Linked DNA regions of Homo sapiens: region 1 is linked to region 2. Evidence: promoter capture Hi-C in 16 types of primary human blood cells and fetal thymus (Javierre and others, 2016). All regions are on one chromosome and are shown on one strand. Each heading gives the region's core, a stretch centred on a gene start or on the middle of the fragment in contact. The rest is flanking DNA. Distances are from core to core; before and after follow the strand shown.

The links. The method cuts DNA at HindIII sites, captures the fragments that hold promoters and counts their contacts. A CHiCAGO score of 5 or more calls a contact.
Region 1: a fragment that was not itself captured here is called in contact with the fragment with the promoter of RARG in region 2 in 1 of 17 cell types (total B cells); the score reaches 5.2 in total B cells.

What each region holds. Positions count from the first base shown.
Region 1 is chr12:53,338,349-53,343,967 of GRCh38, forward strand. It overlaps a transcript of SP7 not described here. Among named protein-coding and RNA genes, the nearest start is that of SP7, 4.8 kb to the left of the region's middle. The HindIII fragment of the contact is 2,419 bases long and covers 2,711-5,129 here.
Region 2 is chr12:53,229,733-53,235,523 of GRCh38, forward strand. RARG (retinoic acid receptor gamma) reads right to left here and starts at 2,477. Exons shown (of 10, transcript NM_000966.6): 1 at 2,242-2,477; 2 at 1,437-1,503. RefSeq lists silencers at 2,163-2,292, 2,613-2,662. The HindIII fragment of the contact is 21,807 bases long and covers 1-5,791 here.

The DNA of each region.
Region 1 (5,619 bases), core at 2,670-5,169, 110 kb after region 2:
GAAAGAGAAGCTTTAGAGAAATTCCTGTATCACCAGCAGAAAAGCCCGACCCAGTTAGATCAGGCAGGAAACTGAGGCAGAGGAGGAGAAAGTCTAGATTCTAAAGAAGAGATAGCAGGTGAGGAGGGGGTTGGGACTCAGATTAGATGAGAGAAGAAAGGAAGAAACTGAAGGGGAAAAGGAGGAAGGATGGAAAGATAAATGGACAGACAGGGCTGGGGAGAGGAGTTGGAAGGAAGGGTCACCTTCTCACTCCCCGTGTGGGCTTTAATCCCTAACCCTACCCGGGAAGGGGCAGACGTATTCAAACCCTACTATTCTCTATTCGAACCCTACTATTCTCGGAGAAATAAAAAGGAGGAGCAGAGTCCCAGGAAGATGTGAGCCAGTGCCCCGATGTGTCAACATAGGACACCCTCTGGACACAGAGCCTCTTCCCCACCAGAGATCAGCGCCAAAGATAGGCAGAGGGGCTGCCTGAATCCCCCAGCTGCTGCCCTCAGGAACCCCTGGGTTCTGACTTCTCCATGTCCTTTTTAAAAATAGTCCTGCAGCCCAGCTGAGGCTCTGGTGTTCCTGGGTCCAGCTCCCCAGTCTCCTTCCCAGTGCCCTGAGGGGCTGGGGGCAGCAATTGGAAGCCCTAACCAAGGACCTACCTCCACCCTCTCAGGCCTCCCTCAGCCCAGCCTCCCAGGGGGTGGGGCAGACCAGGGAGAGGCGCCATGTGGCAGGGGCGGGTAGAGGCTGCGGCTCTGGTCCTTCCAGTATAAACCCCCTAGGCATCTGGTTTCTATCCACCACCCCCCACCACCCTGGGGGCCCCTCAGCCTCCGCCCATGGCCACCCAGACGCTGAGCTCCAAGGGATGGATGCCCCAGACGGAAGGGGTGGGATGATGCCTTTCTGATATCCCAATGCCAGGACTGGGCTGAACCACAGGAACCATTCCCTTCCCACCCTCCCCTAGGAGAATCAGGGTGGGCTTTGTAGGTTAGAGGGGGTTGAATCTGGCACCTGCCTCAGTTCTCCAAATGATTTTGGATCTTTTTGGAAAGATCAGTGGGGTGAAAACAGAATGAAAACTGGGGAGAGTGGGGCCGGGTGCAGTGGCTCACGCCGGTAATCCCAGCGCTTTGGGAGGCCAAGGTGGGTGGATCACCTGAGGTCAGGAGTTTGAGACAGCCTGGCCAACATGGTGAAACCCCGTCTCTACTAAAAATACAAAAATCAGCTGAGCGTGGTGACGGGTGCCTGTAATCCCAGCTACTTGGGAGGCTGAGGCAGTAGAATCACTTGAACCCAGGAGGTGGAGATTGCAGTGAGCTGAGATCATGCCATTGCACTCCAGCCTGGGCAACAAGAACAAAACTCCATCTCAAAAAAAAAAAAAAAGAAAGAAAAAAAAAACTGGGGAGAGTGGGAGACCTGTACCCCCTATTCCCAAGGGATGCTACTTCCATCGTCCACACCATCACCCTCTACCACCTTTCTAGGCTGGGCTGTCTCTAAGAGCCTCATCCAAAGGGACTCCCAACTCTTCATTGTTGCTGTTATAGAAGGTTTGACTACCCTAGGGAGAATCACCAGAGAATAGTGAGCAGAGCCCCTGAAATAGAGACTGACACATGCCCTAATACATACCTGATGACAGACACATTCAGATCTGCATACTTGCACACACACAAGGTGACACATAATTCATACACATTTGTACTATGCAGGCATCCATATTGACACACACTGATATATACATATACAGATAATGCTTACCCCAAGACACCCTAACCCCCAATCATAAAAATGCACACACCAGTATATATATACATGCATACAGACTCACAGCCACCTAGAATACTCCCCACATGGACTCACAGACTCCCATCAACACACGTATCTACACATGTGGCAAATGTCACATACATATACCCAGGGCTACCATTACAACTTTACAGCCCTGGAGATCTCTGTGGTCTCCTAAAGGGCATTTGGGAACCCCTCTCCCTATAAGGATCTGGAGATAAGGGTGATATGGAGGCCACTGCCAGTCCTGCAAATTGCTGCCTCCAACTCCTACTAGTATAAGAAGTTCCAGTGTACCTTTAGGTACTTTTGATCCAATACTCCACACACACACCAGAGTTCAGAGACCCAGATGGCCCCAGCGAACTCCCTGGTCCTGGGGAACCCCAGCATCCCTACCCCCACCCAGGCCCCCGCTGCTCTGCGGCCCCGCTGACTCATCTCTCCCTCTGTGGAGCTCCCCAACCACAGGGGCCTGGAAGAGAAGCTTGGAAAGTTGCGCTCATGTCCCGGGCCCCTGGTCTGGCCACTACCCGCCCATGCACCCAGCCCAGCCCTTGTCTCCAGTGGATACTCCAGCGACAGAGAACATAGAGGGGACAGGAAAGAAGAAGGCACGCAGAGACAGGGAAACAGAAAGACACAGGAGAGACAAAGAGGAAACAACAAATGGTGGGCATACAGATGAGAGACCCTGAGGATCAGCTACTAGTCTGTTGGGTCCTCTAAGAGCAATGGGGCTGATGACCAGGAAAGCTTGCTCCTTGGGTTGAAGGAACATCCATTCATGGCCTCAGGATTTAGAGACTGCCGAGTGCCTTGACCCAGCATTTCTGACACTAGGCTCAGGGTACTTGGGGAAGAGGATCCAATTTTAGGAGGCAAAGCTGAGGACACAGGGTAGAAAGGAAGCTTTTAAGAGGCTGGCAACCTTTGTATAGGACAGCTTGGAAAAGGAGTTCCTCACCCCAACAAATATGTACACAAATTTACAGGTACAGACAGACTACAACTTCCCTCCCTCTCTGCTAGGTCTCCCCATCCCCTCTTCCAGCACCAGGGCTGCAAGGCAGGACCTCTGGGACTGACTCTGGCTCCCCTCTTCCCTGAGCCTTGGGTTCCTTCATTGACATTGAGCCCTGATATAATTCAGCAGCTTTAGGAGAGGCAGATCAGAATCAGAAACAGAAGTGCCATGGAAGGAGCAGGAAGGAATCTGGATGGCAGGGGACAAAGTGAAAAATGAAAGGAAGAGGAAGACTGGGGTCTGATTCTGAAACAAGGGGACCTGTCCTGGATGCCCGTGTCTAAAATGGGACAACATTGAATTAAGTAAGAACCTGGTCATCTCTAGAAAATGACCCTTTGTAAAAACGATACCCTAGAATCTGATCCATGAAATATACTAGTGTCTTTCATAAGAAGAAGTTGGGGTGATGGAGTTCTGATCACATCATCCCTAGGAGTGAGGCTGAGCAACTCAAGGGAATGGTCCTTCAAAATCCTAAATACAGGCCTGGTGAGGTGGCTCACACCTGTAATCCCAGCACTTTGGGAGGCCGAGGTGGGTGGATCACCTGAGGTCAGAAGTTTGAGACTAGCGTGGCCAACATGGCAAAACCCTGTCTCAGGCTGGCCGAGGTGGCTCATGCCTGTAATCCCAGCACTTTGAGAGGCTGAGGAGGGCGGATCACGAGGTCAGGAGATCGAGACCATCCTGGCTAACATGGTGAAACCCTGTCTCTACTAAAAATACAAAAAATTAGCCGGGCGTGGTGGCGGGCGCCTGTAGTCCCAGCTACTTGGTAGGCTGAGGCAGAAGAATGGCGTGACCGGGAGGTGGAGCTTGCAGTGAGCCGAGATCGCGCCACTGCACCCCAGCCTGGGCGACAGAGCGAGACTCCGTCTCAAAAAAAAAAACAAAAAACAAACAAACAAACCCTGTCTCTACTAAAAATACAAAAATTAGCTGGGTGTGGTGGCGCGTGCCTGTAATCCCAGCTACTCTGGAGGCTGAGGTAGGAGAATCACTTGAACCCAGAAGGCAGAGATTGCAGTGAGCCGAGATTGTGCCACTGCACTCCAGCCTGGAAGACAAGCGAGACTCCATTTAAAAAAAAAAAAATTCCTAAATACACACGTCTCCCCGCTTTCTCTGGCCTGCTGCATTCTTCCTCGGAGCCCAGATTTTTGAAATGTGGAATGAACTTAAAGAACATTCTTTCATTCAACAAATGTTCAGAAAGCACCTACTTTGTGCTAAGCACACTGGGCTAGACTTAGGCATGCAATAACAAGCAAGACAGACTCATCCCTTCACCTCACAAACTAACCAGCAACTAATACAAAAGAGTAGGAAGTATCTCGATAGAATAAGTACTGGAGGGCCAGGCGTGGTGGCTCACGCCTGTAATTCCAACACTGTAGGAGGCCAAGGTGGGTAGATCATAAGGTCAGGAGTTCGAGACTAGCCTGGCCAAGATGGTGAAACCCCATCTCTACTAAAAATACAAAAAAATTAGCCAGATGTGGTGGCAGATGCCTGTAATCCCAGCTACTTGGGAGGCTGAGGCAGAGAATTGCTTGAACCTGGGAGGCGGGGGTTGCAGTGAGCCAAGATTGTGCCACTGCATCCCAGCCTAGGTGACACAGAGAGACTCCGTCTCAAAAAATAAATAAATAAATAAATAATAAATAATAAAAATAAAATAAAATAAAAAATAAGTACTGGATGTTATAGGAGACAAAAGAGTAAATCTAAGCCAGTGTTGGGGGGGAATTAAGGAAGGCTTCCTGGAAGACAGCATGACTAAGTAAAGAAACTGAAGGACAAATAAGAGTTATCAAGTAAAAAAAGGAAGAGTGGTGCCAGTGCAGTGGCTCATGCCTGTAATCCCAGCACTTTGGGAGGCTGAGGTGGGTGGATCACTTGAGTCTAGGAGTTTGAGACCAGCCTGGGCAACATGACGAAACCCCATCTCTACAAAAAATACAAAAAAAAAAAAACATAGTCTGGGTGACAGAATGAGACCTTGTCTAAAAGAAAAAAAAAAGGAAGAGTGTTGTAGGAAGGGGGAAGAGTATATGCAAAGGCTCAGAGGTATGAGGGATTAACAACTTTTGAGATGCTGAAAATTGAGTGTGAGTGCAACACAGAGTGGAGGCTGATGGAGAAGTTCTAATCAGCTATGCAAGGGGCCTAGACTTGATCCAAAGGCAATATATGAGAATACTCGTATATTAGAGAAATGACTGACTTCAGAGAGGAGAATGAAATAAGGGCTTAGAGCCAGGCGGTTCTGGGTAAATCAGGCATTTACAATGGTGCAAGCTTGGGTGAGCTATTTAACCTTTGAGGCCTAAGATTCCTCTCCTGTTGAAAGGGGCAACTTAATATGGTAACCTCCCAGGGTTGTTACAAGGATTAGCAATAAAAAGTGTTGAGTTCTTAGCACAGTGTCTGGCACTTAGTAGTTGCTCCATAAATGGTGCCTAGCAGTATTGTCACAGTTGGGAGAAGGGCAAAATCGGAGGCAAGGAAACAATCTGTTGCAGCAGTCCAAGCAAGATGTGGGAAGGTGTGGCCTGCAGTAGCAGAGAGGATGAGCAGAAGTCAGTGGAGGGGGCCAGCACGGTGGCACATACCAGCACTTTGAAAGGCCAAGGCGGGCAGATCACTTGAGCCCAGGAGTTTGAGACCAGCCTGGCCAACATGGTGAAACCCCTTCTCTACTAAAAATACAAAAATTGGCTGTGCCAATTTTTGGCACATGCCTGTAATCCCAGCTACTTGGGAGGCTGAGACATGAGAATCTCTTG
Region 2 (5,791 bases), core at 1,227-3,726:
GGGTGAGAAGCTACTAGAGGACTCCCCCATCCCCATGTTCCCCAGACTTGGCTTAGACTGGGAACAGGGCTCTCTGCCTTAGCCCTCCTTGTCTTTGCTTCTCACCTACCAATGGGAAACACAGGCAGGTAGGGCAGTGGGGGTCCCCACAGAGGGATGCTCAGCTCCTGATCCTCACCAAGGAATGATGCTGCATGTGAGCCAATGAGAGTTGTCCTTGGCCTTCCTCTTATTTTGCCTCAGAGAAGGGACTTGGGAGTTGAGTGAAGAGAGGAAGGGGGTAGAGATTCCTCCCATTTCTGAGCCTTGGTTCTGTCGTGGCTGGGAAGAGAAGGGGAGGGTCTTAAACCCAGGGTAGGAGAATGGACTAAGGAATTGAAGGCAGTGCAGAGTAAAAGGAAGTCCTAAACTGAGGCCCCAGGTGCCTTGGTTCTTTGGGGGACTCATGGAAAGTAGAGAACATTCTTCCTCTACTAAGATGCCATCTCAAATGGTGGGGCAGCGGGGATGACAGACTAGGGGAGAGGGGCTCTTACAAAGCTGCTTCTCTTAGAGCTGAGGTGGAGTTGAGGGGAGGGCATGGATGAAGGGGGCTGCCGGATGGAGGGGGGTGTGTTTCCCTGTCGCCCTGCCCGCTCCAGAGCCTGGAACAAAGCTGCTCTTGTCGGCCACTCTCCACCCGCTGCCCCCCTCCCCTCTGTATAAACACGACCACCTTTTTCCATGACCCCATCTCCAGCCTGGGCAGAGAACCCAGGCATCCTCTGCTCTAGCCTGGGCCCCCAGCCTGCTCCCCAGGAGGCAGCAGTGGGCCAGGCTTCCTTGGCATTGTGCCATCCCTGGGGGAGTCCAGACCCTTGAGTCTCCACCTCTCATCCCCAGGTGCCCTCCCTCCACCCTACTAGCCCCAGGGAGGGGCAGTGCCCAGGAGGCAGGCAGGCAATGCCAGTGGAATGTGTGTGGGCATCAGAGGGCATGGACAGGGTGGGGCAGAGGGGGGAACTGGAGGTGCCAGTTAGGTGGCTTTCTGAGCCAGGGGTGGGGGTGTGCCGGGGTGTGGGGGGGCGTGCCCCATGCTGCCTACTAGGCTGTAGGCCACAGTGCGTGTGTGTGTGTGTGTGTGTGTGTGTGTGTGTGTGTGTGTGTGTGTATGTCTGTCTATATGGGATACCCAAGCTCCAGGCTCCCTGCACACACTACCCCCACTCCCCTGTCTTCTCTCTACTTGCCTCAAGGATATGAGATGCTGGCTATGGTCCTTGACCCCAACTCAGCATCTGACCCTAAGGGCAGAAGCCTCAGACTTGAGGATTGGGATTCCAGCTGCCCAGGACCAGAGCCCTAAAGCGGGACAGTCATCTCAGTTTCTTGCCCTGAAGACCTCCTACTCAGGCTCCCCTGCCCCCACCACCACTAACAACCAAGCATCTTCTTACCCGCTGGCCGCCTGCAGAGACTGGCTTCTACATACTGGGTCAGGTTGAGGGAACTGGGCCGTAGCTGCTAAAGACAGAGAGGCAGCGTCAGTGGAACTCTGGGACCAGCACTCCTGGGTCCCTGTCCCGGTCTTCCTGCTCTTTCTTTGTTCCATTTGGGCTTCCCTCAAGAATACTCCAGAGGTGCCCCCCACCTTGGCTGGAGGGAGCCAAGGCTCGCACCTGGGCTGGGAACGTGTGGGAGGGAATCCAGCGCTTCAAGGAAAGTTCACAGATCCCTATCCTATGCACCAGTCCTTCGGAACTCCTGGACGCGGAGGGCCAGGCTCACTTGCCTCTGGACGTTTTCCTTGCCTTCTGATGTCCAAGCTGTCCCATTCCACTGGGGAGGGAGGAACTTGGACCAGCATGGAACATCAAATCTACCCCTCAGAGCCCGGGGGTAAGGGGGTGGTAGTCTTTCCCCGCGAGAGGAAACCCTGTCTTCTCTCACATTCCCAGCACAAAAATATAAGGAGGAATGCCCCCTGGCTGAAGACTTCCCCAAATGCTGTCCTCTGCTATGCACCAAAATGAAGGGCAGATGACCCAGCCCATCCTCAGCCTGTTAAAATCTTCCCCATTCCCTTCCCACAGCAGGACTGGCCTGGGTCGGGGCAAGAAGCCCCCCTCAAGCCCGGCGGCCAGCCTGGCCAGCCTCGGGAGGGCATTCGCCCGTGCAGCTCCTCCGCGCCCCCTCCCCCAGCCGCCTCGCCGGAGGACCCAGGCGACGGGGCGGGCGAGCCTGCTTCCCCGCCTGACTCACCTGGAGTGGGAGGGGGAAGGGAGGCGGCGGAGCCCCGAGGTCCCGGCGTCGGGCAGTCTCTTGGATGGAGCGTCGCAATGTCCGGGGCTCGCCGTACTGGGGGGCTCCTGGGGGGGCACGGCTCTAGGCTGGGACTGTCCCGGGGCCTCTCGGAGCCCGCCCGCCCACGTGACCGCCCCAAAATATCCGACACATTTTCTCCCAAACCGCACACTGACTCTGCAGGCGGGGACACGGAAAATATTTTCTTTCTTTTTCTCCCTCCCCACCCCCCCCCCAACCTCCCTCCCTGCCCAACTCCCTCCTCCCCCTCCCGCCCTCGCTCCTCCCTCCCCTGCCTGCCCCTGCCCGGCTCCCTCCTCTGTGCCCTGGGGCTGGGGGGCGGAGGGATGGGTGGGCGGGAGGGGGACTGGGCGGGGCGGCCCGGGACGCCTGGGTCTCTGCCCTTCCCATTTGCTAGGCTTCCGTGACTCCATCCTCTGGGAGGCCGGGCACGGCTGGCAGAGGAGGTCAGTGTCCTGGCCCCGTGATGCCAACCTTTTCTCTCTGGCACTTTTCTCCTTTCTGCCTTTTGGGGGGACTAGTTGAGTTGTCTGTGGCCAGGCTGTGACTCTTGCGAGGCCAGTCTCTGGCGCCTCCCCAGGGTAGGCAATGGGGCGGTACCCACTCCCTCCCAGTGCTGGATTGGCCGGGCAGGAGTATGCCAGATCTAGAATAGATGCTCCTGCCCTTACTCTTTGCTCAGCCTTCACCTGCAGATCCAAGTAGCCTCTCCCTTCCCCTAGCCCACCTCAGTCCTTTGGTCCCAGGAGCAAACTGGTTGACTAGTGGCTGTTGCTGGGGGTGCTGAGGCCAGGGCTCACAGACATCTTCCCTGTCATCTTGCCTGGAGTAAGCTCCAGGAGTTAGGGCGCCTGGGTCCCTGGCTGCCAGTTGTCCCCCACCTTTAGGCCTGGATTTGGAAGGGGAGAGGCTGGAGAGGAGGGCAGGAGGAACTGTGGCTGGGAGTGGGAGGAGCCTTGGGCTGGGTGTGAGAGAGAAAGCCCAGGCAGAGGGTGTGTGTCTGCCCTAGCCAGCACCGGCCTGCCTGCCTGCCTGCCTGGTAGATGTGCCATGAATGCTGTTGACTCCGGGTGTGTGTGTGTGTGCGTGTGTGTGTGTGTGTGTCTGTGCAAGCGCGTGCGCATGCCAGTGCCGAGAGTGAGTGTCTGTGTCTGATGGGGGCATTATCTGCTTCAACATAGACAGACTCTCAACCCTAGAGTGAGAGAACCCAGTGGTTTCACTCTGCATTCTACTGAGGACAGAGGGAGAGAAAAGAATGGGTCTGCAGTCCAAGCTCTGTGCACGGATCCCAAACACTCCCATGGGGACTGGAGTTGGGAGGGAGAAAGAGGAGAAGGGGAGAGTCTGAGCTAGGCTGATAGGCTGGACAGACATACCCAAAGTACCTTCCCCAGCAATGCTCGCAGGGTGACCAGGACCTGGGACACAGACTCCTGGGTCACGTCACATTTTCCATACTGGAATTACTTGGCTTTGTCCTTGCTCCCCCCTGGGGGCCAGGTGTCCTCCCTCCTGGGAAAGGCTGCTTTTGGTAGCCAAAGTCAGGTGAAGGAGATGGGGGAAAGAAGAGGCATGCTGTGGTTACCTCAGGGAATGGGAGATGGCAATGGGGGTGCAGACAAGCCCTCTCTTTCACTCCAGGGATAGGAAGAGCTAGGAATAGATACTCCAGGGTCCCGTCCCCAGGTGGCCTAGCTGCTGTTGACTTTGCTTGGTTACCCTGGGAGCAGCTCTCAGCAGTGTGGGAGGGGCGGGTGTCAGGGAGTTGGACCCAGGCGTCCAGGCTGGGGTGGGATGGCGCCCCGCCTGTGTGGCAGGGCTCCTGCCAAGAGGCTGCAAAGTTAACCCCTCCTGCCCTGCCCTAGTGGTGGCTGGTGGGAGGAGGGCGGGCCCAGTTGTGGTTTGGGAATGTGGCCCTAATTTCCCCCTCCCCCTTCCAGCACATCTGTACTTGGTTTACAGTGAATGAGCCTCCTGTCCTCATGAACCAGGCAAGGGCACCACTCCCTCCTTGGCCAGGCATTCTGACACAGAACCAGGCACCACCCGTGACACTCTCCTCTCCCTGCTGAGTATCATCTCTCTGAACTCTTCCCTTCTCCTTCTGTAGAGGGGCTTAGGGTTGGTCCCAAAGATCTACAGCTGGAGCTCTGAGACAGTGCATCTAGGTAGCAAATGGGGCCAGGGAAGCCTAAATCGGGGGACAAAACACTTGGGGTAGCCTCTGAAAACAGAGGGAGTCAGAATTCCAACTGTCTCTGCCCTCCCTTTGTCTTGGTTTGTCTGTCTGTCTGCCCGGGTCTTTGTCTCTGGTGGGCGTTTGTCTATCCATCCGTCTTGGTAACTGTAGCTCCTCCCTTCTGGCGGCCTCCTCGTCCCCAGCCGACGACAGCAGCCAAGCAGCGATGCCCAGGAAGACCCGCCCTATGCCGGCCCCTCCCCTTGGGATTGCCACTGCTTCCACCCCCGCCCCCTCTACCGCCCCTCCCCAGGACCCAGTGACTGGGGTCTGTTCACTGCAGCAGTTTGGAAGTCAAACCAAACAGCAGCAGCAGATTGGGGGACAGGGAAGAGGGGCATTGTGAGGGCTTCAGATTCTTCTCCCCACCCTCCACTCCCCAGCTTGCAACAGAGCCAGCTTTCTGTCCAGAGATTCCAGGAGGAGGCTTGGGAAGAGGGCTTCCCACTCTGGAAACTGGTGGAGGGGGCTCCCCTCATTCCTCTTTCCCTTGGGTCATCCCTATTTCTAGGCTTTGCTCTGTTTGTGGCTGCTCTACTTTGTCACCCTGGCAACTTGGAGAAATGATATCTTGGGGGCCCTAGTACCAGGCTTTGTTTGCTCCCCTCATCCCAGAGCAAAGACCAAAAGGAGAGATTATGAGGAGAGGAAAAGGATGCAGATATCTGTCCCACCTGTCCTGAAAGTCATGGGGAAATGACTTATTCAGTGCCCTGATGCTGGGGGGGCGGACAGTGGTGAGGATGAAAATTGCCCCACCCTAATTTTCACCCTCACCCCCTCCCAACCCTCCGGCATCAGGACACTGAATAGGTCATTTCCCCATGCCCAAATCTGGTGGTGTGGGGGATGTCCTATGCCATGCTCAGAGGTGTCTGGCAGATGACTATAGGGGGTGGTGGGGGAGCTGTGTTGCAGCCCCCAAAGACATCATTAAGGCATGGAAGTGCTGTCAGGGCTTGGGGACCAGGGCACCCAGGGAGAGCGTGATGAAAACATGTTTTGTACAACACGTGTCCTCTCTTTTCCCTTCCTCCTCTCCTCTCCCACCTCCTCCCCCTAGGCAAGCTCTGTGCCAGTGCTGGTGCCAGCCCTGCCTCTGGTGCTTGCTCCACTCCATCCCTTGTACTAGGCCTATTCTGCTGCTTGCCAGCTCGTTGACTCTCCTGGTGAGGGAGTTTGTGTGTAGAAGGTCCTTACCAGCCCCAGTGCTGCCCAGATCCCCACATAGAATAAGGACTTAAT